Linked DNA regions of Homo sapiens: all the other regions are linked to region 1. The links are contacts of gene promoters, found by promoter capture Hi-C in blood cells and fetal thymus (Javierre and others, 2016). All regions are on one chromosome and are shown on one strand. The core of a region is centred on a gene start or on the middle of the fragment in contact, and the rest is flanking DNA. Distances in the headings are between cores, read along the strand shown.

Region 1 (3,817 bases), core at 33-2,532:
GGGGAGTGGGAATTTGGAAAGTTCCCCAACTAGGGACACACGTGACCTCCTTCGGAAAGTAGTTCCGACTGTGGCCCGTGTATCCTTCCACCTCCTTTTGAACCCTCCTAGGTCTCCTCGCCCCGCCCACTCGCTGGGCTGCAGCTTCCTACCGTTCCGTACTTTCCACTCAACCCGGTAACCCCAAACGTGCACGGTCCGGCCGGGGCGCGCGGAGCCTGGCCCCGGGCGATCCATCCTGCCGGGTTTTCACGGCGGCCAAGGGGGGGCGGGGCTAGGTGGTCTCTGAGAACCGAGCTTGACTCCGACGCCGCGAACCGACCTGGAGCCCGAGGGGAAAGATGCTCGACTCTCTTGGGGGCACCGGAGCGGGCGCAGGAGAGGCCTGCGGGGTGCGTCCCACTCACAGGGATCCTCTTTCAGTTCATTTAGATAGGTGCCCTTTGGGCCCTTGAAATTCAACGGCTATGTGTTCACGTTCAGCACGCTCGGCTGAGAGCTTTCATTTTTAGGGCAAACGAGCCGAGTTACCGGGGAAGCGAGAGGTGGGGCGCTGCAAGGGAGCCGGATGAGGTGATACACGCTGGCGACACAATAGCAGGTTGCTCTTTGTGCTAAGACTGACACCATGAGGACACAGATTTGGGGGAAGGGGGAATCTCTAGGCAAAGGCTGTTACAGTCAAATCTCTGCGAACGATTGTGATCCGACAGCGGTGCAAAAGGAAAGAGCGAATGCAGTCCACGCCGCGGAAATCTAGGGGTAGAGGCAAGGGGGGAGGGTATTCCCCTTGCAGGGACCGTCCCTGCATTTCCCTCTACACTGAGCAGCGTGGTCACCTGGTCCTTTTCACCTGTGCACAGGTAACCTCAGACTCGAGTCAGTGACACTGCTCAACGCACCCATCTCAGCTTTCATCATCAGTCCTCCACCCCCGCCCCACAACAGCCTACCCTGCCTCCGGCTGGGTTTCTGGGCAGAGGCCGAGGCTTAGCTCGTTATCCTCGCCTCGCGTTGCTGCAAAAGCCGCAGCAAGTGCAGCTGCAGGCTGGCGGCTGGGAACCGGCCCGAGCAAGCCCCAGGCAGCTACACTGGGCATGCTCAGTAGAGCCTGCGGCTTGGGGACTCTGCGCTCGCACCCAGAGCTACCGCTCTGCCCCCTCCTACCGCCCCCTGCCCTGCCCTGCCCTCCCCTCGCCCGGCGCGGTCCCGTCCGCCTCTCGCTCGCCTCCCGCCTCCCCTCGGTCTTCCGAGGCGCCCGGGCTCCCGGCGCGGCGGCGGAGGGGGCGGGCAGGCCGGCGGGCGGTGATGTGGCGGGACTCTTTATGCGCTGCGGCAGGATACGCGCTCGGCGCTGGGACGCGACTGCGCTCAGTTCTCTCCTCTCGGAAGCTGCAGCCATGATGGAAGTTTGAGAGTTGAGCCGCTGTGAGGCGAGGCCGGGCTCAGGCGAGGGAGATGAGAGACGGCGGCGGCCGCGGCCCGGAGCCCCTCTCAGCGCCTGTGAGCAGCCGCGGGGGCAGCGCCCTCGGGGAGCCGGCCGGCCTGCGGCGGCGGCAGCGGCGGCGTTTCTCGCCTCCTCTTCGTCTTTTCTAACCGTGCAGCCTCTTCCTCGGCTTCTCCTGAAAGGGAAGGTGGAAGCCGTGGGCTCGGGCGGGAGCCGGCTGAGGCGCGGCGGCGGCGGCGGCACCTCCCGCTCCTGGAGCGGGGGGGAGAAGCGGCGGCGGCGGCGGCCGCGGCGGCTGCAGCTCCAGGGAGGGGGTCTGAGTCGCCTGTCACCATTTCCAGGGCTGGGAACGCCGGAGAGTTGGTCTCTCCCCTTCTACTGCCTCCAACACGGCGGCGGCGGCGGCTGGCACATCCAGGGACCCGGGCCGGTTTTAAACCTCCCGTGCGCCGCCGCCGCACCCCCCGTGGCCCGGGCTCCGGAGGCCGCCGGCGGAGGCAGCCGTTCGGAGGATTATTCGTCTTCTCCCCATTCCGCTGCCGCCGCTGCCAGGCCTCTGGCTGCTGAGGAGAAGCAGGCCCAGTCGCTGCAACCATCCAGCAGCCGCCGCAGCAGCCATTACCCGGCTGCGGTCCAGAGCCAAGCGGCGGCAGAGCGAGGGGCATCAGCTACCGCCAAGTCCAGAGCCATTTCCATCCTGCAGAAGAAGCCCCGCCACCAGCAGCTTCTGCCATCTCTCTCCTCCTTTTTCTTCAGCCACAGGCTCCCAGACATGACAGCCATCATCAAAGAGATCGTTAGCAGAAACAAAAGGAGATATCAAGAGGATGGATTCGACTTAGACTTGACCTGTATCCATTTCTGCGGCTGCTCCTCTTTACCTTTCTGTCACTCTCTTAGAACGTGGGAGTAGACGGATGCGAAAATGTCCGTAGTTTGGGTGACTATAACATTTAACCCTGGTCAGGTTGCTAGGTCATATATTTTGTGTTTCCTTTCTGTGTATTCAACCTAGGGTGTGTTTGGCTAGACGGAACTCTTGCCTGGTTGCAAGTGTCAAGCCACCGATTGCTTTCTTAGGCTATCTATATGGTCTCTTCCTGAGGGCTATTGTCCGTTAATACAGAATACAGTACACTGTTAGTGGATTAGCGAGCTCGGTAATCCGGTCTCCTAAATGAACAAAAAAGTAGACGCTTTTTGAGGTTGAGCATATTTCGATTAAATCTTGGCTTAGGCCCTAGATCAAGGGTTTAGATCAGAATAAAATGAAAATTAGTGTTGCACGTACGCATATTGCATCAGAATCTTGCAGTGATTGTTTTAGTTTCCTGAGTTGCATTGATAGATTCTTTTAAAATATGACTGATTTGCATAACTTTAGAAGCAGAATCATTTTCAGTATATATGGTGCACATTGAGGGCAAAAAGTAGTTTTGTTAATGTTTAAACTTAAGTTACCTACAACTTTGAACTGTATGTAGAAGTTTTGTAGTTTGAAGTCAATAGTGCCATAATATACCTTATAAGGCGTTCTTACTAGATCTTTGTTATATTTACCTTTTTCTCTCCCTATGGGGTGATGTAGGATAGTGCTTGAAATTTGCACTTCAGTAGCATTTAATGTTCAGTGCTCTTGTCATAAACATAGAATGGATATTGAGTAGTTTCTGATCCCAGATGGTAATGTGTAGGTTCAAGGGTATTGTGTGTAGCAAGTGAAGATTGCAGAAATAAAACTTCAGTTCATGCTTGAAATTTAAGTATTGTTGTGATGCCAGAATTGCTGCTCACCGTTTTTAGGTTTCAGGTCCTCTGACACCTTTTGGTATCGTTAATTTTACTGATTTGTGTAGAATGTCAGTTGTATTTTACCAGCTAATATCTAGAAATGCTGGCAAGAGGGGTTTACTCCAGCTTTAGATTGTAGGTATGTTAGCTTTTTTCATACAGTGTATTAAATTTACTGAGTCAGCTTGCTGAATAAGACAGAAGCCCAAGAATTTTAACAGTGTGTAGCTTTAGTTGTCTAAAAGTTAGGCCTTCGGGCTTCAAAAGTTAGTGGTCATCGAAAAGCATTAATCTTTGCAGTTTCAGGTACAACACATTGGTTTTGATTAGGGATGGGGATGGGGCCCTCTTTTTGCAGAATGGGGAAAGTATTGACAGGAATTGAGAGCTATTGGTAGGCCAGTGTATAAGGTATGTGAAAACAGAATTAAGTTATTGGTCTGAAGTGACTGAAGCATTTAGGCTCTATCAAGGCCTAAAATTTGGTAATATGAGTTTGGTAATGCGAATTGTGGCAGTGGACAATATTTAGTTAAAATTATGTAATTGCATAAGTACTAGCACAGTATTTTTAATAAA
Region 2 (3,817 bases), core at 799-3,298, 480 kb after region 1:
TATTCTAGGTGCTCCCTGAGTACTCCCAGTCTACTTGGCAGGAAAGTTGCAGCCATGTAACTATTAGGTTGGTGCAAAAGTAACTGTGGTTTTACCATTACTTTTAATACTTTTTTGGTCAATGGATTAGGAGGGAAAGTAAAGTGTATCAACCTTAGGCCAAAGCTGTTCAAAGCTCTTGTGCTTCCTCCATTTCTTTCCTATTTCCAGGCTGACTTTTGGGGCTTATCTTCCAAGTGGCAGAGCTACCAGATGAAGTAGAGCTGCTCAACCTGCATCTGACTTTGTGTAAGCCACAGTGTGTCAGCCACAAGCGCCTTTGTAGCAGTAAGATTTGGGACATGCCTATTCATCACCCTGGTTAATACATATTCCCTATTTCAAGTATAGAACTTTTAAAATGACCTACCTTAGGAATAAATGAACTCAAGAAAAGCATCTCATATTTCAGATCTCAGATTCCCAAATTGTTATCTTTTGTTTTCTGCTCCCTTGTTTTGATCAGATCTCATTAATTCACTATTTACTTAACAAACATTTCATTGAGAATTTACTGTGTATTAAGCTATGTGCCAGGTGCTAGAGATACAATGATATCCAATTTCTTAATTCATGGACCTTACAACTTGAAGGTAAAACAGGCATTAAACACATAATCACATAAATCAATGTATAGTTACAGAAAATTAAAATATAAGTATAAAATAAATCATAAAAATAAAATAGAGAAACCATTTTAATTAAATTAGGACTTCAGGAATGCCCTCTGTGGAAAGGACATTTAAACTGAGACAGTCTAGGTAGAGAACAGAATAGACAAAGGTCTCGAGGTGGAAAAAAGTATGGGAGGAAAGAGAGGTGTGACTGGAGAGCTAAGGAGTGAGGAGATAGTGAGATCAGGGGTTGGCAAACTATGGGCTTCAGGCCAAATCTGGCCTGCCACTTGTGTTTGTAAATAAAGTTTTATTAGAACACAGCCACGCCCATTCTTTTATATGTCTATTGCTTGGGTTACATCAGTAGATTTGAGTAGCTGCAACAGACTGTATGGCTTGCAAAGTCTAAAGTATCTGGCCTTTATAAAACATCTGCTGACCCCTGTACTAGATCATTCAGGACCTTGCCAGCCATGTTAAGGATGTGAGATTTAATCTCATGTGCAAAGGGAAGGCATTAAAGGGCTTTGAACAGGAAAGTGAGTGGCATGAACAGATGTGTGCTCTAAGAAAACCATTCTGGTTATTTGAAGAATGAACTGGAAAGGGGCAAGGATGGAAAAGCCAGTTAAAATAAGACAGTGTCTTGACAGTGACAGTGACGATGAAGAGAAGTGAATTCAAAGTCTATTTTTGAAAAAAATATCAATACGATTTGGTTTCAGATTGCATATTGTGGTGCAGGAGTGGAAAATATCAAGGATGATTTCGGATTTTTGCCCAAAAAAGCTAGGAGATTGGTGGCTCCATTTTCAAAAATGGGAAAGATGGGGGAGGAAAAAGTTCAGAATAATGAAAGTAGGCAATCAAGAGCCAGTGATGAACGTAAGTTTGATCTTAACATATATATATATTTTCCAAAAACAACAAAAAAGGAGTAAAACAACTCTCAAAAATATATTCTGAATTCTACTTTCTGTCCAGGGCTGGGATAATTTTCCTCTATTTTCCTTGTATTCGTTCCTTTAAAAATTCCATAGATTCTGTCCATTCAAAGAAAAGGCCACATTTAGTGAGACTGCATATATTTCAGGATCTGTTTGGGAGAAGATTTTCTTTGGCCGACACCTCCCAAGCTTCATGAAAACATCTATTTATCCTGGGACACAAGGAGATTTTCAGTCTGTTGCAGCTTTTATTTGCACTGCCAAAAGGAAAAACGAAAGGGTTTCAATAGTCCTTTAATTGAAACGTCCCTGGAGCAGAGGATTTGTCCTAACTCACATTTGGTTTTCCAGGCTCTCACTGGAGTTCTCCTTCCACAATGCCTAAAAAAGCCCTGGTTTTCTATGATGACAGTCCACTAAAATGCTCCACTTTCCCAATACTCACCAGCAGTATGCAGCCACCCCTTATTATACATTGTTATTTTGGCCTACTCAGCATTATGCCCTCTATGAAATTTTGTGTTAAGTGGTATTATGATTGGACTATTTTCCTGAATTGGGCAAGGTTTTCCCCTTGAGCCAGCATACTGGTTTGCCTCTAAGGATATCACTTTATCACTGCAGTTGCATAATTGGGTTCAGCTTTAGATTTGTAGCTGCTCAAATGAGCAAAATACATCTCAGGGCTGGGGGATTTGACCTAAAGCTTTGCTGTCATCCATTTGGTTTAGTAAAGAGAAGTTTTTGCCTTGACATTATAAAATGCTGAATTTGAAAAATTGAGACTAAGCAGATGGTGAAATTTTTATTTATGATAGTGTCAAAATATTCCTGGCTCCTTTTGTGGAGGAAATCTACTGGTTTACTGTGGACATTCTTATCTTCTTTCCTAATAAGACAAATGGAGTTACTCTTCCTGTTATATTTTGACAGGAAAAACAACGATTGGATCTGGGTATTTTGGCAAAAGCTCTTAAATCAGAGGGACTATAATCTTTATGATATTGTTAGCCACTCCCGAGAAACTACTATTATGAATACAGTAAACAAATAGGCATTTTATTTTTAATAAAAAAGAGTGAATTAGGTTCAACTGACCTCAAGGTTCTAAAGTGCCTTTCCTGACTCTGTTAAATAATGTAAGGATATATAACAACAGCAAGAATTCACTTGCTATATTTATAATAGAAATCTATTTTAGTGAGGAAAACTATATTTTAAATTCAAGGATGCTTCATTTTTTACAAACATGAATTTGGAATATTTTATACTAAAGAATTCCCCTAGTCCCACAGATCAGTTATAAATATTAATGGAATTTCAAGAGATTCTTTTCTGATTCCAGTGCTTAATATTCATTCATATTATGCAGGGAATTCAATGTCCTGTACAGTACATATGGATTCTTCTCATTATATAAATGAGCACATATATGGAATCTGTAGGGGCAATGACAATTAAAAATAGCAGGGCCCACATACGATTTTAGAGGGCATATAAAAGCCTTCTCAGCTCACTTAATAACAAGAAATTTACTGGTAATAAACCAAAGGACTCTTTAGGCTCAATTTACTCAATAATGTCACATCTGGGCAAAAAGATGGATTGGTGATTCTGAACAGAGTTAAAAATGCTAACTGATATAAAGTATTTATGAAACGCAATGAAGTGATTTCCTGTGGTGAGATTCTGCAGTCAGACTTCGAAACCTGCTCTTGAATTAGTCTCAGCTCTTTGATTTGCTAACGATTTACTTCACAGTGCTTAGTCTTCTCAGACTATTTGTAGTGTAAATTTTTTTTGGAAAAATTCTTATTCAAAAAATGATTTGACATCCCATAAAAAGAACTGCATCTAACTTCATGTTCTCTGAGTTTAATAACTTATTCAGGTAATAAGATATTGTTTAGCCTTCCTAATGTGTAAGTATAAGTATTATTTTTAACAAAGGGTGATTTTTAACTAAACCTGCACTATTAGTGTGTCATTCTCTCTTCTGTCTCTCAAAATAAAAATTTATATAACTAATGGACCAAAACCATAAAATAATTTGTATGTGACAACAATTATAAAGTTGGCATTTACTATGCACCTATGTGCCAGGCATGATATTAGAAGTTTTGGATATACTATCTCATTCAATCTTTATAACATTTCTGGGAGCCATTATAGTTACAGTTCAGGTAAGTAAGTGAAGCTCAGAGAGATTAAGAA
Region 3 (3,817 bases), core at 514-3,013, 450 kb after region 1:
TTTATGAATTTTATGGCAAAACACAAGAGAAGAGAGTCCCAACATGCTGCAAACTTTTTAAAGTGAAGTGAATGCTTCCAAGGAGTTTCACATATACGAGGTGAGGGACCTGAATTCAGAATTTGTGCAGTAAATGCAATGGTAAGCTGGGCTGTACAGTATTTTCACCTCACAGTAGCTGGAACAACTTGAAAGAGGAAATAGAGGGGCCATCTCTTTGAATGTTCAATGTGTAACCTGTCAGTGAAGACTTTACAGGTTCTGTACAGAGGGAAGGACTCAGGAGTGGAAAATCTCAATTTCTTTCACAGAATACCACCACAGTGAGAAATCTATTGCATATTGCCTTAGGAAGTTTTATTTATGTTATCAGTTAATAAACTCAGGGAGGCTTGTTCACAGTGACGGGGTATCAATGCCACCCCTCTTCCATACAGTACCACATCTTCCCAGCAACAGAGAAAACTACTAGGTCAGCATTCTGAAGCAGGGAAGTTGGGGCTCTGAGTTGACTTATCTATGTCAGGCTTCAAAGGAAAATGAATGCTAGCTGCATGCTGAGAATTGGGAGGTTGCACTGACCCAGCTATTTGTTCCAGGGGAAACTCGTAAAGTCACTAAGACCAGTGATGGTGTGATGCCAGGTTTCTCCCATTTACATTAACCATCCACTCCACGGAGAGCAATAAAACATGAAATTTAAGACCTAAAGTGAAATAGTTCTCGCATAACAATGAGAGAACAACCTGCCTACTTATTTTTATTTGAATTGTACATTTATTTTGAAAATTTAGATGAAAATTTGAATAGCTATGACTGAAAACAGTAAGTTTTGGGGAAAAGCTCCCCCAACCCTAAATCAGAGTGTGTTTTCAGAAGCTAAAGTCTAAAAATACAAAGAGTCAAGCAGAATTTAAACGTGATCAAAGTTTGAAAATAGAGCAGTATAAAAAGCCACAAATATGTTAATAGGATCTAGAGCATAAATTCAGCATAATCATTATTCCTTGGTCACGGGGAAGTTAATGATGCTATTTTTCTTTTTCTTTTCTTTATTCAGTTTAACAAGAATATCACCTAGCTTTTGGCATTTTAAATGTAAAGCTCACAGTAAGTTGACAATTATTTCTCTACTTTGGGAAATCAATGGCTATAGAGTCAGAAGATAAGTATTTGAACCTCTGCATCCTTTAATAGCCCTGTAATCTTGGACAACTTAATCTCTCAGGCTTCACTTTTTTCCATCAATTAAAAGGGAGCAACACTACTGACCTTACAAGGCTGCCATGAGGATTAAATGAATTACTCACATAAAAGCCTTCCTTCAAACATAAAGTGCTACACAAACAGAAGGCATTCCTAGGTAATATTCTTGTTTCCACCTCTCCACTGTTGAAAGAGCAGCTTTAGAAAGGGATAACAGAATTGACTTCTCTCAAAGCATTAAGACTGATCATTACATCAACACCCCAGCGACAATGGAAGACTATTCCTGGGTATAGGCAGAGCAGGATTTGATTTTTTTGTGTGTGTTTCGTAAAATATACATAAAATTTACTGTTTTAACCTATTTTACATATACAGTTCAGTAGCATTGAGTATGTTCACTTTGTTCTATAACAGTCACCATCAAGCTGCTGGTTTTCAAGATGCCTGTCTAGTGACATCAGATGCCAGCTCTTTTCAGAAAGATCAAAGTTATCTGTGAATGGACAAGTTCCAAATGCAAAACTTACAGAAGAGATCCAGGACCTGACAGAGTGCCCAGGGGAAAAAGCTGAGATGCAGAAAAAAAAAGCAGCAAGGGTCTGGCAGAGATTGACCCCTGAGGAACTCAGAACCCTGTGCTAAGGGGTAGTGGGTGTGCTTCTCTGCTCCCTTCACCCCTGCAACAATTCACTGACTGTCAAACTGTTGGGGAGCCCCTCTGCCCTCTGGATCACGGGCAATGCTGTCAGTGGTGACTTGGGGGAATTTTCCAGGGGCAAAGAACCAGGTGGCCAGCTCATGTTAAGCATGCCTACACTCCCCTCAGACCTGAACTGACATGGCTGAACTGAGCCATGCTGGTTGTGCACCTGTGGTGGGACACTGCCCTGCCCAGGGAATCTCTGCCCTTGAGTCACCACACCACGAGATTCCCCACAAACATACCCCACAACCCATTCTGTCTCTGGCAAACATGGGGCTGTTGGGTCCCTGTGGAGCTGTGGGAGCCCTGGAGATCTCACCCTTGGTGGGCTGCCCTGAAGGCAATGGGGAGCACAGCCCACTAAAGTCTCCCTTGGGACAAAGGAAATGAAGGAAGTGGCACCAATCGGTGAAGGGGGTAGCACTGATGGCTAGGAAGGGTTGTGGAGAGGGAGTCATCCACCCCTTGCCACCTTTAGCCACTGTTGAGGATGCAGTAGTGGTTCTTCTGGCTGGGGGCTGGTATATGTGCACCTGGAGAAAGCACTTATCACACTTTTTGTAGTGAATCCACACTCGCTGAAAGTGAGCCCATGCTGCTTGGGCTTGCACAAAGGGCAGGGCCCAACTCCCTGACCCTACACAAAACAGCAGCATCCTGGCAATGGAGGACACAGACAAGCCACAGAGTTGTCTGCTCTGGACTGGGGGAAGGGGCTCTGCCCCAAGACCATCTTGGTGGTAGCTGCCAAAATGGTATATCAGTAGCCCATAGCCACATTGCAGCTGGGAACCAAAGGAAAAAGTCTTTATGAACTGAAGGCTGGGAGCCCTGTGACATGGTGTGATAGGGGAAGCAGCTGGCATTCCTGCCTGGTCAGGATGAGGAGCTGGTGCACTTCCCCAACTGCTCCTTCCCCAAAGACCTCAGCATGCTCCAACAAAATCTCCTCCCCTCTATATCAGGGCAGGTGCTTCCGCTCATCATCAATCTACCTGTGGGTGGGCCAGCTCTTACTCTTAAGTGCCACCTACTGGACTAGAGCTTGAACTCCACCACCAAATAAAACACCTGCTGCCAGAAGGGCTGAGTGCTAGTGTATGTGATGAGACTTCCATACCCTCAGCCAAGCAGTAGATAGAGTGTTAGCTCATATGTCAAATATATTGCTACAACAAGCAGCATCCGAGAAAGCCACCACACAAAAGCTACCCACAATGAAGGACCCATACAGCACCTTGGTCCTCTGAAAGCACCTGGAAAGGAGGCCAAATGATCATACACAACATACAACATACCCTCAAGATAAAAAAGAATTACAAAATGTAAAAGTCCTATCAAAAGGACAGAAAATTAAAAAATAAACGTGACAGATCCCTCATATGAGAAGGAATCAGTGCAAGAACTCTAGTAGCAAAAAAAAACCTAGAGTGGATTGACACCTCCAAAGTATTTCATTTGCTCTGTAGCAATAGGTCCTAACAAAAATGAAAAGTCTGAAATGGCAGACAAATAATTCAAAATATGGATTTTAAGGAAACTCAATGAGATCCAAGAGAAAGTTGAAATCCAATACAAAGAAACCAGAAAAACAATTCAGGCTATAAAAGATGAGACAGCTATGTCAAAAAAAGAAAAAAAACCCAAACAATTAGAACTTCTGGAATGAAAAAATTCATGGAAAGAATTTCAAAATACAGTTGGAAGCTTTAACAATAACCTAGACAAGCAGAAGAAAGAATTTCAGAGCTTGAAATGTGGTCTTTCAAATTAATCCAGTCAGACAAAAATAAAAAAGAATTTAGAAAAATGAAGAAAGCCTTTGAAAAATATGGGATTATGTAAAGTGAACAAACATACAACTGGTTGGTATTCCTGAGAGAGAAGAAGAAAAAGAAAGCAACC
Region 4 (3,817 bases), core at 839-3,338, 430 kb after region 1:
TGTGTGCCAGGGCTGGTCAGAAAGAACTCTTGCCTGCTCTAGAGTAGCAAATGCAATGTTTCTATAAACTTAGGCGATAACTGGACTGGGTATATAAATAAAGCTGAAGAAGTGGTTTTATTTCTAAGCAATTTAAACCCATGTCAATGTGTTTTGTTATATAAAATGCAAACGCCAAAGCCCCTCATGGAGAGCTCTTCATAACCAGGATCTTACTTCCATTAAAATCTCACCTCGTGCCACTTCTCTCACCTTTGTCACCCTTGTCCTTGCCACTTCTCTCGCCTTTGTCCTATCTATATTCAAACTCAGGTTCTTTTTCTTGTACTTCTGTGGCTTGGAACAAACCATTTTGCTGGGTGATGTTGCATTATTCCTCCTCTTTGCTGACAAGTAAATTGCTCATCCTTCAAGACTCAGTATAAACATCACCTGCTCTGAGGCATTGTTGCTCAGCCAGGCAAGGTCAATGCCTTTTCAGCATGTTATTTCTATCTATTATATTACTTGCTATTTTGCACTGTAATGATGTCCATGCCTGTCTCCTCTCCTCCTAGACTGCAAGCTTCTAAGAATAGGGACTCTGACTCACTGATCTTTGTATCCAAGGCTGAGAACAGTGCCTGGACCATATGAAAGTGTGCAATAAATGTTTATTGTGTTAAAAAAAGATATTGTACACAGTTGATCAAATGAAGTTCTTGACAGAAAACCTACACAAAAAGTATTATTCAGAGGCTCCCCATATAGCTGAGGAGAAGCTCAAATGGAGGAACTATTGTATTTAGAAGACTCTTAATAATGATGAATGAAGGGGTGTCCTCTGGCCTCAGACTGTGCACTGCTTTAATGACTGTCTCCTGTCATGTATTAAGTTGAACCACATAAACTTGCTGATTCCGTCGGTCAAAAATGGGAAAATATTGTCAATTTGTATATGGTTCAGCCTAATAGTTTCTTTGCATCATGATTACTAATTGTAAAAGTTCACACAAAAAAGTGCTTTTGGTGTGAAAATGAAATTAAAGATGAAAGGAAAGAGGTAGGCAGACAAGTAGGCTGAGTATTTTCACAAAATGATAGTTGATTATTTGCAAAATAATTCAAATAATGTCCATTCTTCCTTTCATATCTATGCTAAAGCTACAGTGCGTCCCTGGACTAGGAGACATTTCCCCATAGAGAACAGTCATTTGTCTGGCCTATAGAGTGGCTTTATTTTAGGCTGACCTATTCAGCCATCCAGCCCATAATTTGGTTACTTAAACAAACCTTTCTGAAACATGGCAACAGGTGACATTCAAGTGGGTAGGCAAGAATTAAGGTTTTATAAATTCTAATTCTAGATATGAAACTAATGTGATCAGGGAGACTGGACAATGAATAATCAAGTTTTTCCTGCTACATTTCCTCACTTACACCATGAATGCAAATTATGCCACATTTCATTGAATCTAAGGCACCATAAAACACAACAATATTTTATGTACCAATGAGAAAGAAAAAATGGTGTCAACATGACACAAAACTTTATTTTATACTTAATAGAAAAGTTCTTTCAGATTTATCTACATGTATCTTTTGCAAACATAAAAAGGAAATAAAAGAGAAATACATTGGTGAAGCCATTCTAAAGGCTCGCATTTAGAGATGGACTTCTCCGAACCACTCTTTAACTCAGACATGCTGATGTCTGATATCCATGCACTTCCTATGCAGTCTGTCCTCTGTGCTGTCTAAAACACTGGCAATGTGGCATTTCTTACAAGGATGTTCCACTGAATTATTTTTTCTTGGGTTTTCTTCTGAGCTGCTGACACTGTTCTCCAAGTATGGATTATGCTTTTTTCTCTTCACTGGGAAAGAAAGGTTTTCAGACAGCAACTAGACCTCATATTCTTTCCTCAAATTGTTCTTAAGTAATTTGTTAGTTTAAATATCAAGAAGTTACAGCTGCCCACTCCAAGAGCACCAGAAATAACCAAGTTCACACATGTGAAAACTACATCTTGACTATCTCCTGGTGTATACTGATGGAGTGGCATCTTATAGTTGAAGAAATATGGCAAGTACTAAGTAAGGTGAGGGGAGAGGGACAGTAAATACTCTACAGTTTCTCAATGCATGACAAGTCAAAAGATAATGAATGGTAGGATCCTTTAAGCGGTGCTTTTTCAGTTAAGTAGCATTGTTGCTGTTAGGACTTCTAATGTCTTTAGCATTGCTGGTTTAAACACTCCACTTTCTCAGCTCACCCAAATGAGCAGCGTCAGGTGAAACTGACAGAGATATACTGGTTATCTAAGAATCCATTTGTTCATTTTCAAAGGAAGGTAAATGTACCAATTCCAGAACCAAGTCTGGTTGTCTTCCCAGATCATTCATCTTGCTGGGCAAATTTCCCCAACTGTATCACAGATTATGGGGGTGACACAGGTGCAGCAACTCCTGACAGACATCACTAATCAATTGTGGCATTCTTTCCAGGAAGCCCAACAGGGCCTCAGCATCCTTCTCTCTTCCGTGCCTCAGGCAGCCACCACCAGTCAATTGGAGTTGGCATTTGAGAGGAATTCTATATACCAACCCTGGATTAGAAGATTACAGAAGGAACACATAATTAGAAATGAGGGAACTAAATATTCTTTACTGTTTTTTTTCTCTCCTTTCCCATTAAATTACTATAGCTTGATGCATTGCCTTTCTCCAAGCCAGAGACCCTTTAATGCCAAGAAACAGATCACATCAGGAGCCATTTCCTCTAGATGCCGCTGCAAACCCAATTACAATTCCTTCTAACAACCTTCTAAGACCCCTCTCCAGGACACTACCCTTCTCTGGGTCACACAGGTGCTTTGGCTGCTGTGTGAAAATAAAATACAGGCGTTTTAGCTACAACCATAGTTCTACAAAATTGTATGCTAAAAATATCAGGGCTTGTGGAAAAAACAGATTTGGGGGCAGATGACTCAAAGCCTATGGAACTTTGAACCAAGCACTAACAAAACCAATAAACATCATAGTAAAGTGGCTAGTACAGTTAACATTCTTCCAGCTTCTGCATCTAGCTACAGTGGTACACTCTTTGCAGCCTAGATCCTGGGGCTTGTGTTTCTCCTTTGAGATATGGGTCTTGGAGGACAGTTGCTTCTAAAATAGAACATTTTGAGCTAAATTGAAAATATGATCTAGGATGCTGCCTTTTTCATCAGTCTGTCATGTTAATATAGGGGAAATATCTTTGTGGTTTCACCATCTGGACTTCCACTTTTGCTAAAGAGCTTAACATGGTAGAAAACCAGCAATTCTTTAAGCCATTGGAACAGCCACTATTTGCACTAAAGGAAAGCATGTTTGTAGATTTTTAGTTTTTATTCCTAAGACCTTCACATTTAGCAAGGCTTTATCTTTGCCTGTAAGAAAACTTACTCCAATTACTTCAAAATATAAATGAGTTTGAAACCAATATGAGTCTCCTGATACTGATCTCTTATTTCTCAACTGCATACAAGGTAACTCACATTAAAAAAAAAAAAAAAACCTAGTTGCAAAAGACTGTAGATAATTTTACCACTTTCTTATGTTATATTACCTTCCTGCAGGTCATTTTAATAAGCTTTTGGTATGCATGAGCCTTGACAGCAGATGGAGATGTCTAAGCCATCCCTTGTATTTTGATACTCACACTGCATCTTTTAATAACAATTTTCGGCCAAGCGTGGTGGCTCACACCTGTAATCCCAGCACTTTGGGAGGCTGAGACGGGTGGATCATGAGGTCAGGAGATTGAGACCATCCTGGCCAACATGGTGAAACC
Region 5 (3,817 bases), core at 690-3,189, 400 kb after region 1:
ATGACTTCTTTCAGCAGTGTTTTGTAGTTTTCTTTGTAGAGGTCTTTCATGTCCTTGGTTAGGTATATTCCTAGGTATTTTATTTTATTTTGCAGCTATCGTGAAAGGGGTTGAGTGTTTTATTTGATTCGTAGCTTGGTCGCTGTTGGTGTATAGCAGAACTACTGATTTGTGTACATTAATTTTGTATCCTCTAACTTTGCTGAATGTATTTATCAGTTGTAGGAGCTTTTTGGAGAAGTCTTCTTTAGAGTGTTGTTCTAAATATAAAATGAGATCATTCAGAAGTGCACAATTAATATTGCTTGTTATAACTGATTTGTCTTTCCCTTTTGAGTAATAGGAGGGTCTGAGTTTACTCATGGGTGTCCCAAATGGCGAATTAGTCATTCATCCCTTTAGGAATAGTTCCATGCTTTACTTTTCTCCGAATTCCTTTCCTTCATCTCCCCAGCAGCCAGCATGAGGCAGCTCACATTAGAGAAATTCACCTAGAAAATGTCATAAGGATTGTAGAAGTGACTGTAATTTCCTGGGCTTTTTTATCTAGGGCACTTTATTGGCAGAAGATGGGCTGGTAAAATTTGATGCATATGGGTAAATTCTGAGTGCTTTTTTACCAGGCTGGCTAGTCACGTGATGCTAAGCCAGGAGGTCCTTAGGATGGGCAGGCCAGTCACTTCTAGGCAGGCTCACCCACTCTAATAACAATGATTCACTTCTCCACAGGCTCCCCTGAGAAGATGAATGCTGGATTTACAGCAGATTTGTGCAAAAAGCCCTATGGAGAAAGAAACATAGGGCAGTGGAAAAATGCTCTCAAGGCTTACGTTCTTTAGAGCTTTGGAAATCAAATGGTAATGTCTGGGTCACTGGGGAGGCTGCTCCTAAAATAACTCCCCTGATTCCTGGCCAAAACAGAGGGCTTTTCCCCCTTTACAACTAACACAGGATGTTGGATGCCCAGCAGTCTCAGTATACTTTGCCTTGGCTGATTTTCATTTCTAATCCCATTGCTTTGTAAAGTGTAGAATTATTCTCTTTTGACCAAGCCAACAGTCTAGAAGTTGTGGGTGGGACTTGGTCTTGCAAACAGAAATATTCTATTGTGGTTTGCATTGTTTTTATCATGTCACAGTTCAGACTCCTACTTCCAAGGCAATCTCTTTTCTTTTAAATACACACACACACACACACACACACACACACACACACACACACCCCACACACACCACAAATGCCAAACAACTTCTACTTAAAAAAAAAAGTCATCATGCATGGCTGCCAGCATGTACATCACTCAGATTCTCCCTTTAAGAGAACCTGCTGTGAGAAAGGTAGCTGGCTGCTGGTGTCAGCTGCTATCAGAGCACAAAAGCTGGGCCATTTTCTTCCTCTAACAGTCAATCTTTGCTCTGGGGATCTGCAGTGGCCAGGCTGAGGTCATCTCAAATTTGAATCGTTGTCTTTGGTCTTCATAGCCAGTCCTCCTTCCCTCCTTCTTTGTCTCCCAGTGCAGGTGTCAGACCTGTGTCACTGTCTGAAAGCTGTCCCTGCCTACTCCTGTTCCCTGTACCCTTTATCTTTCATAGGCATTTTCCTTCTAATTTGGTCTTTGTGTCTGTTTTGCAGAGGACCCAAATTAATACACCATAAATTCTAGTTTTAGTGAATTACAAATCTCCCAGGGTGAAGACTCTAGCATCTTGTCAGATGTTTGAGCTCACATTGCTGCAAACCCAGGAAGCAATATATAAGAGATGCTATAAAGCAAAAGGAGGCTGGGCACAGTGGCTCACATCTGCAATCACAGCACTTTGGGAGGCTCAGTCAGGAGGATTGCTTGATCCCAGAGTTTGAGACCAGCCTGGGCAACATAGCGAGACCCCCTCTTCACCAAAGGGGAAAAAATTAGCTGAGTATGGTGGCGCAAATCTATAGTCCTTGCTACCCAGGAGGCTGAGGCAAGAGGATTGCTTGAGTCCAGGATTTCAAGGCGCAGTGAGCTACAATCACACCACTGTGCTCCAGCTTGGGCAACAGAGTGAGACCCTGTCTCTAGAAACAGAACAAAACAAACAACTACCCCCTGTCAAGGAGTGGTTGGACTCCTGGATGAAAATACCACCAATACATACTTTAAGTCTAACCAGGAGAACACAAAACCTACAAATTGAGCACATCTGAACAATAAAGTCAGACCTTCCCATTTTGAGTTAGGGTGCATTTTTAAAAAGATGGCCAATGGCAGAAAGGCTCAGAAAGGAGGAAGAAGTGAGGAATAGAGAATTTGGATGTGGAAGTTGAGAAGTCATGTGATTCAGTGTCTTCTTAAAGGTCTCAGAGGCCACAGAAGGGAAGAGAGCCTGCCATGGCTGTGCTGTTCCCAGAGAAATTTTGATTTTAAATATCTTGGTAAGAAAATTAAATTCTACAGCCTTATAGGGGAGAAACGTTGGTGTAAGATTTTTTCATAAACAGAAAGGTTCTGTGAATTTTGGCAGTGCTCAAAGAAGGTATTCGAGACAACACTTGGTTTTATTTTACGCTTTTCAAAGATTTTGAACTGCATATGGATTCTTCTATTAAATAATCACTAATTGGATCTCTTTTCAGACCTACCATAGTTCAGGGTTGCGTTATTTCAATATGCAAGCTCACCCTCTGAAGGCTTCTCAATGGTGGCGCTATTGGCATTTTGGGTGGACTATCTTGTGTTAGGCAGGATAGTCCCATACCTCTCAAGACCATTTAGCATCCCTGGCCTGTGTCCATTAAATGTCACTTGTGTTCCCCACTTCCCAGTCATTGAAAAAACTTGAAAGCTCTCCATATATTTCCCGATGCCCTCCTCACCTTCAAAGATGTGCTACCATGCCAGATTGGTGAAAAACAAATGAACAGACAATTCCCAATGATTAGACATGGCCAAACCATGCAATAGGACCATGTGGGAGGTGGCTGTGGGGGGGTTGATTCCATGGCCCCTGCATGCTGTATATCTCTCTCACTAGAATGACAGTTTCAAAAATGAATCAGGATGGCTTAAGCGAAAGAAGAACTTATTGATTCCTACAGGCAGACAGGCCAGGGCTGAATTCAGAGCTCAAATGATGCCATCAGGTCTCAGTTTATCTCCATCTCTTGGCTCTCCCATCCTCTGTGTTAACTTTATTCTTGACCTTCCTATGGGGACCCTGGCAGCTCTAGACTTGCCCCACAGAGTGGCATGGCTACCAGCAGCTTTGGCTCAGATCTTTTGCTTCAAGTCCAGTGGGAAACTCTTGCAATGTTCTGAGTCCCAGTCTGACAGAATGAATTTATTTCAAGTTTATTTTACCTCTGAACCAGTTGGTGTGGCCAATACAACATGAAGCACTGACTAACTCAGGCTTAGGGGTTCTGACCACTCCAGCACATGGTGGCTTGCCCCACCCCAGGCCACACGGACTGAGGGTAGTGAAAGGAAGCCTACTCAAATAAAACCTCTGGAAAGAAAGGCTGTTAAGCCCTGATGTTAGGGGGACAATCAACAAATGTTCACTAGAGTCAGAAAATTGCTGGAATCTATAATAAAGATCAGTGAAACTCAAAGAGACATATCCTCTTTGGGGAGAAAGCAATATAATGCAAAATGCAGGTGCATCAAATCTTTCAGACTTCTTTGGCCACTTTTAAACATATTTGACAACCATGAGATTGAATAAAATATTTTCATACACAGGGCCCTGGTTTGGCATTCACAGGGAGTGGATATGAACTGATACTTCTCTGAATCAAGGAGTATTTACAATGAGATTCCTGAGAATAGGTTGTC
Region 6 (3,817 bases), core at 662-3,161, 380 kb after region 1:
GCAGCTAAAGGGCTGTAAAAACCATAAGGGAGGCTGGGCACGGTGGCTTATGCCTGTAATCTCAGCACTTTGGGAGGCTGAGGCAGGCGGATGACCTGAGGTCAGGAGTTTGAGACCAGCCTCAACATGGAGAAACCCTGTCTCTACTAAAAATACAAAATTAGCCAGGCGTGGTGGTGCATGCCTGTAATCCCAGCTACTTGGGAGGCTGAGGCAGGAGAATTGCTTGAACCTGGGAGGTGGAGGTTGCGGTGAGCCAAGATCATGCCATTGCACTCCAGCCTGGGCAACAAGAGCGAAACTCTGTCAAAACAAACAAACAAACAAACAAACAAACAAACCCATAAGGGAGTGAGGAAACCTGGGTTTGGATACCAGCTCCACAGTTAGACTTCAAGCGGAACATTGATCAGTTTAAGTCTCATCAGTAAAACAGTGATAATAATATCTGACTCTCTAGATCCTTGTGAGGATTAAATCATATAATGTGTGGGAAAATGCCTCGCACAGTGCCAGGAACATAAGGGATACTCACTAAATTTTAAGTTAACTTGCATGCTAGGAAATCACAAATATGCCTACTTTGCAGATGATAAATTCAAATTTACAAGATTATTACTGAGGCATTCAATGTCAGCTTAATTAAAGAAAATCCCATTTTCCCTGAAGCTCTGCTGGCTTTCTGAACTTTTTGTCCTGGAACAATACTCTGTGCTAACCCATTTTATTTTCATTGGTTTAGTCAAAGGACAATGAGTCAGACACTGCAGTTTGGGAGTCTTGAGTTCCATTTTGAGCATGCATAGTCCAGTGACCTTGGACAATCAATGGGACATTTTTTTGTGAACCCTTTTTGCATTTCCCCAAAGGCAAAGCCTTAGTCCTATTCCTCCTTTCTGTCTGCTCAGCACAAACTTGGCAACATTCGTTACCAAAAATCAGGGCATCGATATTTTAATTCACAAGAAAAATCCAATTCATGTAATATCTTTATCCCTCTATGAACTGCGGGGAAAAACGGAAGTAAGCAAGCCCAAATGTTCAGCCTAAAGCATTTGCCGATATTCCTTTAAAGTAATAATCTCCCTGCAAGGCCAGCAGCTCTTTAACGGACACTTCACTTTGCTGTTGGAAAGAAAACCTTTTCTGTGTTCTCTGCCTCCACCTGAACTACTCAGTAACTGAAAGTCATTTTGTTTCTCCTATCACCCTTGGCAGCTATGTACACATTACCCATCCATTTCACTATCTAAATCAGGAGTTGAGGAAAAGTCCCTGTGGGAAGCCTGAATAGCCAGCAGCTGCGTTTGGCCTGGCCAGCTGAACTTCAGCCTGCATCTTGGCCCAACCCCAGGACTGATAACGCCTTTGCTAAGCTTTAGATTTCCCCAGCATTTGCGTGCAAAATGGAAAGGCTGGTTTCCTCTGTCCTGATGGCTTCTCTCAATGCTCTTCGGGCTTGTTAACTTGTTTTAGGCAAGAAGAGAGTGGGGGTGGGGGTTCCTGGGCCCAATCCGGGGTCTGCATGCTTCCAGCCTGCCCCAAGTTGTACAGCAAATGCTGACCTATATTCCAGTGACACACACCAGATATGAGTAGGACATAACTGCCCAGGGCGCTGCCCACTCCCTCCTCCTCCTTGTTCCTCAGCCAGGAGGGCAGCCAGATCCGTACACCATGTTCTGTCTTGTCAGCCGATGGTGTGACAGGCACCGGGGGGCTTATTAGGAGGCAACGCCCCCCCATAATATGAACCTCTGGGCCACACCACACTGTATTCTCTCCAGGAAGAGTAGCAGTAACCGAAAGGGTGCAGACAAGTTGATCTCTTGAGTTAGATCACAATGATTTCCTTCCAGCCATTGTTTTTGGACTGCTTTGCTGTGTTTCTTTAGAGTGGGCAGATGGCAGGATCCTGGAGGTGTAAAACAGCTACAAAAAACAAGATGATTCAAACAGAAGGAATATGTATAAACCCTGCTGTATCATCTCGATATTAATCAAGAGACTTGGCTTTTCCTTCCCCCTTTGCAGGATGTTTAAGGTTTTCATGCTTTTTTTTTTTTCTTTCTTTCTTTTTAAAAGAAGGACACACTGTGTAAATGGGCCACTTTTGGGGTTTTGGCTGAAAAGTTGGTGTCATTTTTGCATTCAGTTTATTTTGAGGACAAGCCCAACTGAGAGACTTTACAGCAAGACCACTTACTTTGAGTAAATGGAAGAAAGTAAAAATGGAACCTCCATAGAAAAAAAGCTAATGCTGGGTAGCAAGGATGGTGCCATCCAAAGTACAGGAACCGAGCCTAAAAGAGACAATTTCAAGTTGAGTTGTGGTTTGCCACAGTGTCCTCGTGATCAGTTGAGTGGTCAGATGTCAGGGGTGACTGAAAATAAGTTCATTTTCCCACAGGGTAAAGGGAGAGAAGAAAAAAAGGGGAAAAAAAGGAAAAGCTTTGCCCATATGAAACAAATACTTTAAAATTTCAGAGTTTATCTGGCATCAGCTCGAAGATTTACCATCATCCATGTGACTTTTGTGAAGAGCACTGAAGAAGAAATAACAGTTGTTGCTTTTGATTAGCATAACATTTTACCCCCCTCCCTTTTCTCCCTAATGATCACAAATAGTCCTTTATGGTGTGATTGCCCAGCACCATTGTTCGTTCAAAAGATCTGAGAGCAAGGGTCTTGGGCTTACGTTATTAAGGCGCTGGCAGGGAGAGGAGAGCTAGGCAGAATGATCTCAGGCAAAGAGCTGCAGTCTCAGAATCAGAACACTAACAGAACCCCGGACCTTCCTAATTCAACCTGAGGTACAGCTTGGCTTTATGATGGCAGCCGCAGAAACGTCTTTTCATGCTGCATGTGTGCAGGAGGACTCTGAGATTCAAAGAGTTAAAGTATCATCTGCAATGGGAAAAAAATGGCTTAACCACAAATTCACCCTGTGCTGGGCTAGTTGTGTGTTATTGCATATATGTGATTTTCTTTTCTTTTTCTTTTCATTTTTTTTTCTTTTCAAATACTATTCTATTTCATGATCTCATATCCTAAAATGTCTCCTTTCTAATTTAGTGAGAGGGACTTCTGGTTCACCACCTGGAACAGGGTGCTTTCTTCTATCATATATGCCAGAAAAGCATTAAAATCTCAAAGGTGAAAACCCAGAGCATCAAATCACCCATTGCAAAACCGAAGGCTTGATTCCTGATTTGGAAATCACGTAACAGGCAACCTCGAATCCCACCATCCTGATGCTTTTTCTTTCTGTTTATCTTTTTGTTCATGCATCCCAACCTAATTTCCTGATTTCACTGAGCCTGTAGCACCTTGAGCAATTCAGTGGCTATAAAATCTCCTGCCGACTTTGTTTTGGCTAGAATTGCAACCCACATGTGGGAGAATTAAGCTAAAACATCACAGAGCTAATAGCGTGCCTCTGTGCAGTGGCAGGCAGATCAGTAGAAAAAGGTGACATCATGGATATTCCGGGACTTCAGGTCTGCAGTGCAAAGCGGCTTCCTCACTACACATCAGAGTCAGAACCTGGATTTGAGACAAAAACAACTCTCCCTTCTCATAAATATCTGCTCTGGGGCTCAAAAATATTCTAAGTGCAACAGCTCAGAACTAGTCCCTTTCCCTTGGAGACTCATCTGACTTTCCAAATCCAATCACAAACTTTTTAATGGCATGTCATGAACCTCTCAGCTCATTATTTCTCTTCAAAGCCCTCCAGTTTGCCAGCTTAGAGCCTGTGAAGTGTTGTTTGATGATGTGCTGCACCATAAATAAGCACATAGGACATGCTAAAATC
Region 7 (3,817 bases), core at 407-2,906, 360 kb after region 1:
CTCCCAGCAAACTTAACTGTTGGTTTCTACCTAATTGTACTTCCCGGTTTCTACCTCATTTTCAGGAAGGGCACATCAGCCAGTCTTTGCTGCTTCCCTCCCTTAGTCATATGGTTGCTTTACCTGACTCCTGGGCACAGACCTAGGGCCTTCTGAAGTTTTATCTTTAAAAGCCATATAAAAGCTCCTCTTAAGGGGGAGTACCAAAAGGGAGGAATAGAACTCTAATTTACCATTCAGTGTCTGTGACTTGTTGAGATTTAAAAAAATAAACAAAAGCAGGCATATTTAAAGCATTAAAGACACATCAATTACTTCCAGCTTGTGCTATTTCCTTTTGAACTCTCCTCTTATGAATGTTACTGTCCCCCTGCTCCTGAGCTCCTTTGCCCCCTTCTGGGATCTGAGCCCACCCTTCAGGGGAATCTCCTCTGGGGAATGGGAAACCAGGAAAAGTGTGACGGTCCCTGAGCTGAGCTGGTACCCTGATGGCTCAGCACACCTTCCCTGCTACTCCCTTCCCACTGAACAAGCTGGTGTCCATCTGCAGTGAAGGGCCAAGGGTGGACAGGGCATTCTGACTTTCTTGGTGACTGAGAAGCATAAACCCTCTAATTAGCAGTTCCCGATTCACAGTTGAGGAGGCTGAAAATCCAGAAAGAGGACAATGCTGGTGCCAGTAGTTCATATGAATGAGTTGTGGCAGAAACACATCCCCAGCCCTCAATTCCACCCACGGCTATATACTTTGTTTTGAAATCTGCTTTCCTTTGCTTGGAGTCAGCTCGAAGAAGGAGCAAAGCATTTTAGGATTTTGGGGTGGGCAGGGTCAAGACTTCAGGTGCCATTAAGCCAAGGGACTGCTGGGGTCAGGGCTGCATTCTATGAACTTCCCTGGCACTTCGGTCTCATGCCCAAGACAGTGCTCAAATTATAGTGGATGCTTTCAGCTGCATGAAATACAGATATCAAAATAACTTTATTATTAAATGACATCTGAGAAGCCAGTCTTCCTTTGATAGATGAGAAAACTGGAGCCTAACAAGTTTACGTAAAATCTTTCTTGGATTTTCTTATTCGTGTATTTATTCATTCTGTAAATATTTATTTAATGCTGGCAGTGTGCAAGGCAGAGGGTCCAAGGACTCCAGTGCATTTGTAATAGAGCTGGGACCAGAACTCAGGGCTTCTCGCTCCTGCCCTAGTATTGTTTTTACTACAAAATATACTAAGACAGCATGTTTATTCATGACTGGACCTGACCATGTGTTGAGCACCTACTAAATGCCAGTTATCATGTATGGGTGTTTGACATAATTATCTCATTCAATTTTGACAGCATCCTTCTGAAAGATAGGTGGTGTTGTCTTTTGTTTGTGATGAGGAAACTGAGACCCAGAGAGGTTGCAAGGAAACCTGTGTTGGGATTCTGCAGCTAGCAAGTGACAGAGTTCGGATTGAGTTTGAGGTCGTCTAAGTGCCTAATCCAGGCTCTTTCCACTCTGGTGCATTTGCTTCTCAAGTGCTCCCAAGACTCCACCTGCTCCCATCAAAGGGCTGCACTCCTTCAGACCGGGAAGCTTTGTATATGCATCCCCCTACTTGGCATGCCCTCCTTTCTTCCTCTCTACCTTTGCAGTCCCACTTGTCCCTCGGGGCTCACATCTTGAAGAGCTCATACTTCAAGAATGTTTAGAGATGAAGAAATCTGGCCACCAAGGTTTAGCCTAGCCAAGCTTGCTGTTTAGAGAGCCATCATTCCTTCAAATGCCTTTCATTTTGTCAAGTTTTACTGACAAGCTTAGGTCAAACTGGTCAGCAGTACCACTTATATAAATGTTTGTCACTGGTCCTTTTGAAAATGAATGTAGACCTTGAACTGTCGTCTTTTCTTTTTTCTAGAATAAACTGCTTCTTGCCTGGGGGATGGTTATTTCCCATTATGCAGCCAAGTCAGAGAATGCTCTGAATAATCAAATATTCCAATGAATGGAGTTACATTACATGGATCAGCAGCTTTCAAGGAATCAGAATAAAATACACTTAACACAAATACTGTACTAAGCATAATGTAATTTTCTTGCTGGTTTTGCTGCTGATCCTGTGAGCATCAATTATCACTTAACAGGGAATCAAGTAACTCTGCCACTAACCTGCAAAGCGATTTTGGGCACACAATCTTCCATTTTGGAGTACTGTTTCCTCTTCTGTAAAACAAGCAAGTTGGATCAGATTGTGTCTGGTGTATGTGTTGCACATGTGTCATCATTCTCCACTCCTGAGCCCATGTCAGACATCACTAATCAATTGTGGCACTTTTTTTTTTCCTTTGATTTCTGACGGCCTCAGCATGCCTCTAAGCCCAGTGTTCCAGCAGCAAATCCGCTCTCAGTAGACTGGAGTAGACACATGAAATGAAATCTATTTGTTATAATTGAACTAGATGATCTCCAGGGTCTCAGCTTTTATGAGCTGCCTGAGGTGAATGCATGCTGGATGGAAAGTTGGGTGGTAGATAGTTTGTACTATCATTAAGCATTAAGTATTTTACCACTCAGCTGAGGGGTTGGGTTTTTTAATTATTATTTTTGTTTGCCTCCATTTCACTGACACATAGGCTTATGTGGCTACTGAAAACTGTGGCAGGAATTATATCTAAAATTCTGGTGGGTAGATTCAAGTGGATTGTGACAAGGGAAGTCTGGTCAGCTTGGCTCGTCCTAGGATTCAACCCACCTTGGAAGCTGTCCTAATAGAAACAGGCAGAAATAATCCAACCCACATCTGAGTTCCCTCATCCCACAGCACTAGGCTGGGACATGTCATTCTGTGTTATGGCTAGTAGGATGTGATATACAAACCTCCTGGTAGATTATAAACTCCTTGGAGTCTGGGAGGAGGCTCTAGTTATCATTTGAATTCACAGCCTGGTCCCACAACTAATAGGCTGTTTACCCCCTGACAAGTTACTTTCTCTGCCTCAATTTTCAATTTATAAAACTGGGGAAAAATAATAATAATATACCTTAGGGGTTTGTCATGAACCTCAGATGACAACATTGATGTAAATGCTTAAAAGACCTCCCGGAATATTGCTTTTTTTATTATTATAAAATCACAGCCTACACAACGCCTGATGAACAAGTGTTACTAGCATGTGTTGACTGATTTAGTTTTCAAATCACCATGAGAGGTAAGTGTCTAACCTTTGGAAGGACTGATCTAAGAAACAGCAGGGAAACAAATATGACAGGATCTGTCCACAAGACTGTGGGGAATTGAACAGGGCAGAGTTAGTACAAAGGGTTTGGATTCATCTGCTGCTGAGGCAACCAGAAATCAATTCGAGGGAGTCACACAGCAAAGGAGGCAGCTATAGTCAGCTTCCTGGCCTTAGGAGAGATTTTTATTCTTTTAACTAGCATCTTCCACTTTTGGAAGCATAGTCTCAAATCATGAAAATACTCTTGTGAGAGCACATTTTTATTTCATTGTGTCCTCAAACAAACCTGTGAGCTCAAGCTCAAGCTCAAGGCAGTATCACCCCTATATGATTAATGAGGCAAAGCTGAGGCCCAGAAAGGTTATGTAATTTGCCTAAGGATACATGGCTTGTGAGGGCAGAGCCTGGGCTGAGACTTTCAGTCTCACAATCTCCCCCATCCTCCTTCTATCCTGTTCTCTTCAGGAACATATTTCAGTTTTAGGTTTCCCGGCAGTTTTTTCTAAACACTATCAAGTAAAAGCAATTTTATTAGTTCATTGATATAAACAATGAGTTGATAAGGGACTTTTATTTTCCCCAAATCCTCCAACC

Evidence for each region. The method cuts DNA at HindIII sites, captures the fragments that hold promoters and counts their contacts. A CHiCAGO score of 5 or more calls a contact.
Region 2: a fragment that was not itself captured here is called in contact with the fragment with the promoter of KLLN in region 1 in 1 of 17 cell types (total B cells); the score reaches 6.1 in total B cells.
Region 3: a fragment that was not itself captured here is called in contact with the fragment with the promoter of KLLN in region 1 in 5 of 17 cell types (M2 macrophages, total B cells, M0 macrophages and 2 more); the score reaches 12.0 in M2 macrophages.
Region 4: a contact is called between a fragment that was not itself captured here and the fragment with the promoter of KLLN in region 1, in 1 of 17 cell types (naive B cells). The highest score is 5.8, in naive B cells.
Region 5: a contact is called between a fragment that was not itself captured here and the fragment with the promoter of KLLN in region 1, in 1 of 17 cell types (naive CD8 T cells). The highest score is 5.5, in naive CD8 T cells.
Region 6: a contact is called between a fragment that was not itself captured here and the fragment with the promoter of KLLN in region 1, in 1 of 17 cell types (endothelial precursors). The highest score is 7.7, in endothelial precursors.
Region 7: a contact is called between a fragment that was not itself captured here and the fragment with the promoter of KLLN in region 1, in 2 of 17 cell types (total B cells and naive B cells). The highest score is 9.7, in total B cells.

The regions. Positions count from the first base shown.
Region 1 is chr10:87,862,251-87,866,067 of GRCh38, forward strand. It overlaps KLLN (killin, p53 regulated DNA replication inhibitor), which reads right to left and starts at 1,283. Exons shown (of 1, transcript NM_001126049.2): 1 at 1-1,283. The coding sequence starts at 237. MLDHR (mitochondrial lactate dehydrogenase regulator) reads left to right here and starts at 1,309. Exons shown (of 1, transcript NM_001433720.1): 1 at 1,309-1,404. The coding sequence starts at 1,309. The coding sequence ends at 1,404. It overlaps PTEN (phosphatase and tensin homolog), which reads left to right and starts at 1,375. Exons shown (of 9, transcript NM_000314.8): 1 at 1,375-2,298. The coding sequence starts at 2,220. RefSeq lists enhancers at 10-99, 350-529 and silencers at 1,130-1,439, 1,530-1,669. The HindIII fragment of the contact is 7,182 bases long and covers 1-3,817 here.
Region 2 is chr10:88,341,949-88,345,765 of GRCh38, forward strand. The region is part of intron 5 of RNLS (renalase, FAD dependent amine oxidase); the gene reads right to left. All of the region lies in intron 1 of LOC101929727 (a long non-coding RNA gene), which reads left to right. Among named protein-coding and RNA genes, the nearest start is that of RNLS, 240 kb to the right of the region's middle. The HindIII fragment of the contact is 517 bases long and covers 1,791-2,307 here.
Region 3 is chr10:88,316,035-88,319,851 of GRCh38, forward strand. All of the region lies in intron 5 of RNLS (renalase, FAD dependent amine oxidase), which reads right to left. The region is part of intron 1 of LOC101929727 (a long non-coding RNA gene); the gene reads left to right. Among named protein-coding and RNA genes, the nearest start is that of RNLS, 270 kb to the right of the region's middle. The HindIII fragment of the contact is 3,708 bases long and covers 1-3,617 here.
Region 4 is chr10:88,289,052-88,292,868 of GRCh38, forward strand. The region is part of intron 6 of RNLS (renalase, FAD dependent amine oxidase); the gene reads right to left. All of the region lies in intron 1 of LOC101929727 (a long non-coding RNA gene), which reads left to right. Among named protein-coding and RNA genes, the nearest start is that of RNLS, 290 kb to the right of the region's middle. The HindIII fragment of the contact is 3,051 bases long and covers 564-3,614 here.
Region 5 is chr10:88,265,516-88,269,332 of GRCh38, forward strand. All of the region lies in intron 1 of LOC101929727 (a long non-coding RNA gene), which reads left to right. It also overlaps a transcript of RNLS not described here. Among named protein-coding and RNA genes, the nearest start is that of RNLS, 320 kb to the right of the region's middle. The HindIII fragment of the contact is 9,608 bases long and covers 1-3,817 here.
Region 6 is chr10:88,242,638-88,246,454 of GRCh38, forward strand. The region is part of intron 1 of LOC101929727 (a long non-coding RNA gene); the gene reads left to right. It also overlaps a transcript of RNLS not described here. Among named protein-coding and RNA genes, the nearest start is that of RNLS, 340 kb to the right of the region's middle. The HindIII fragment of the contact is 1,075 bases long and covers 1,375-2,449 here.
Region 7 is chr10:88,219,501-88,223,317 of GRCh38, forward strand. All of the region lies in intron 1 of LOC101929727 (a long non-coding RNA gene), which reads left to right. It also overlaps a transcript of RNLS not described here. Among named protein-coding and RNA genes, the nearest start is that of PTEN, 360 kb to the left of the region's middle. The HindIII fragment of the contact is 156 bases long and covers 1,579-1,734 here.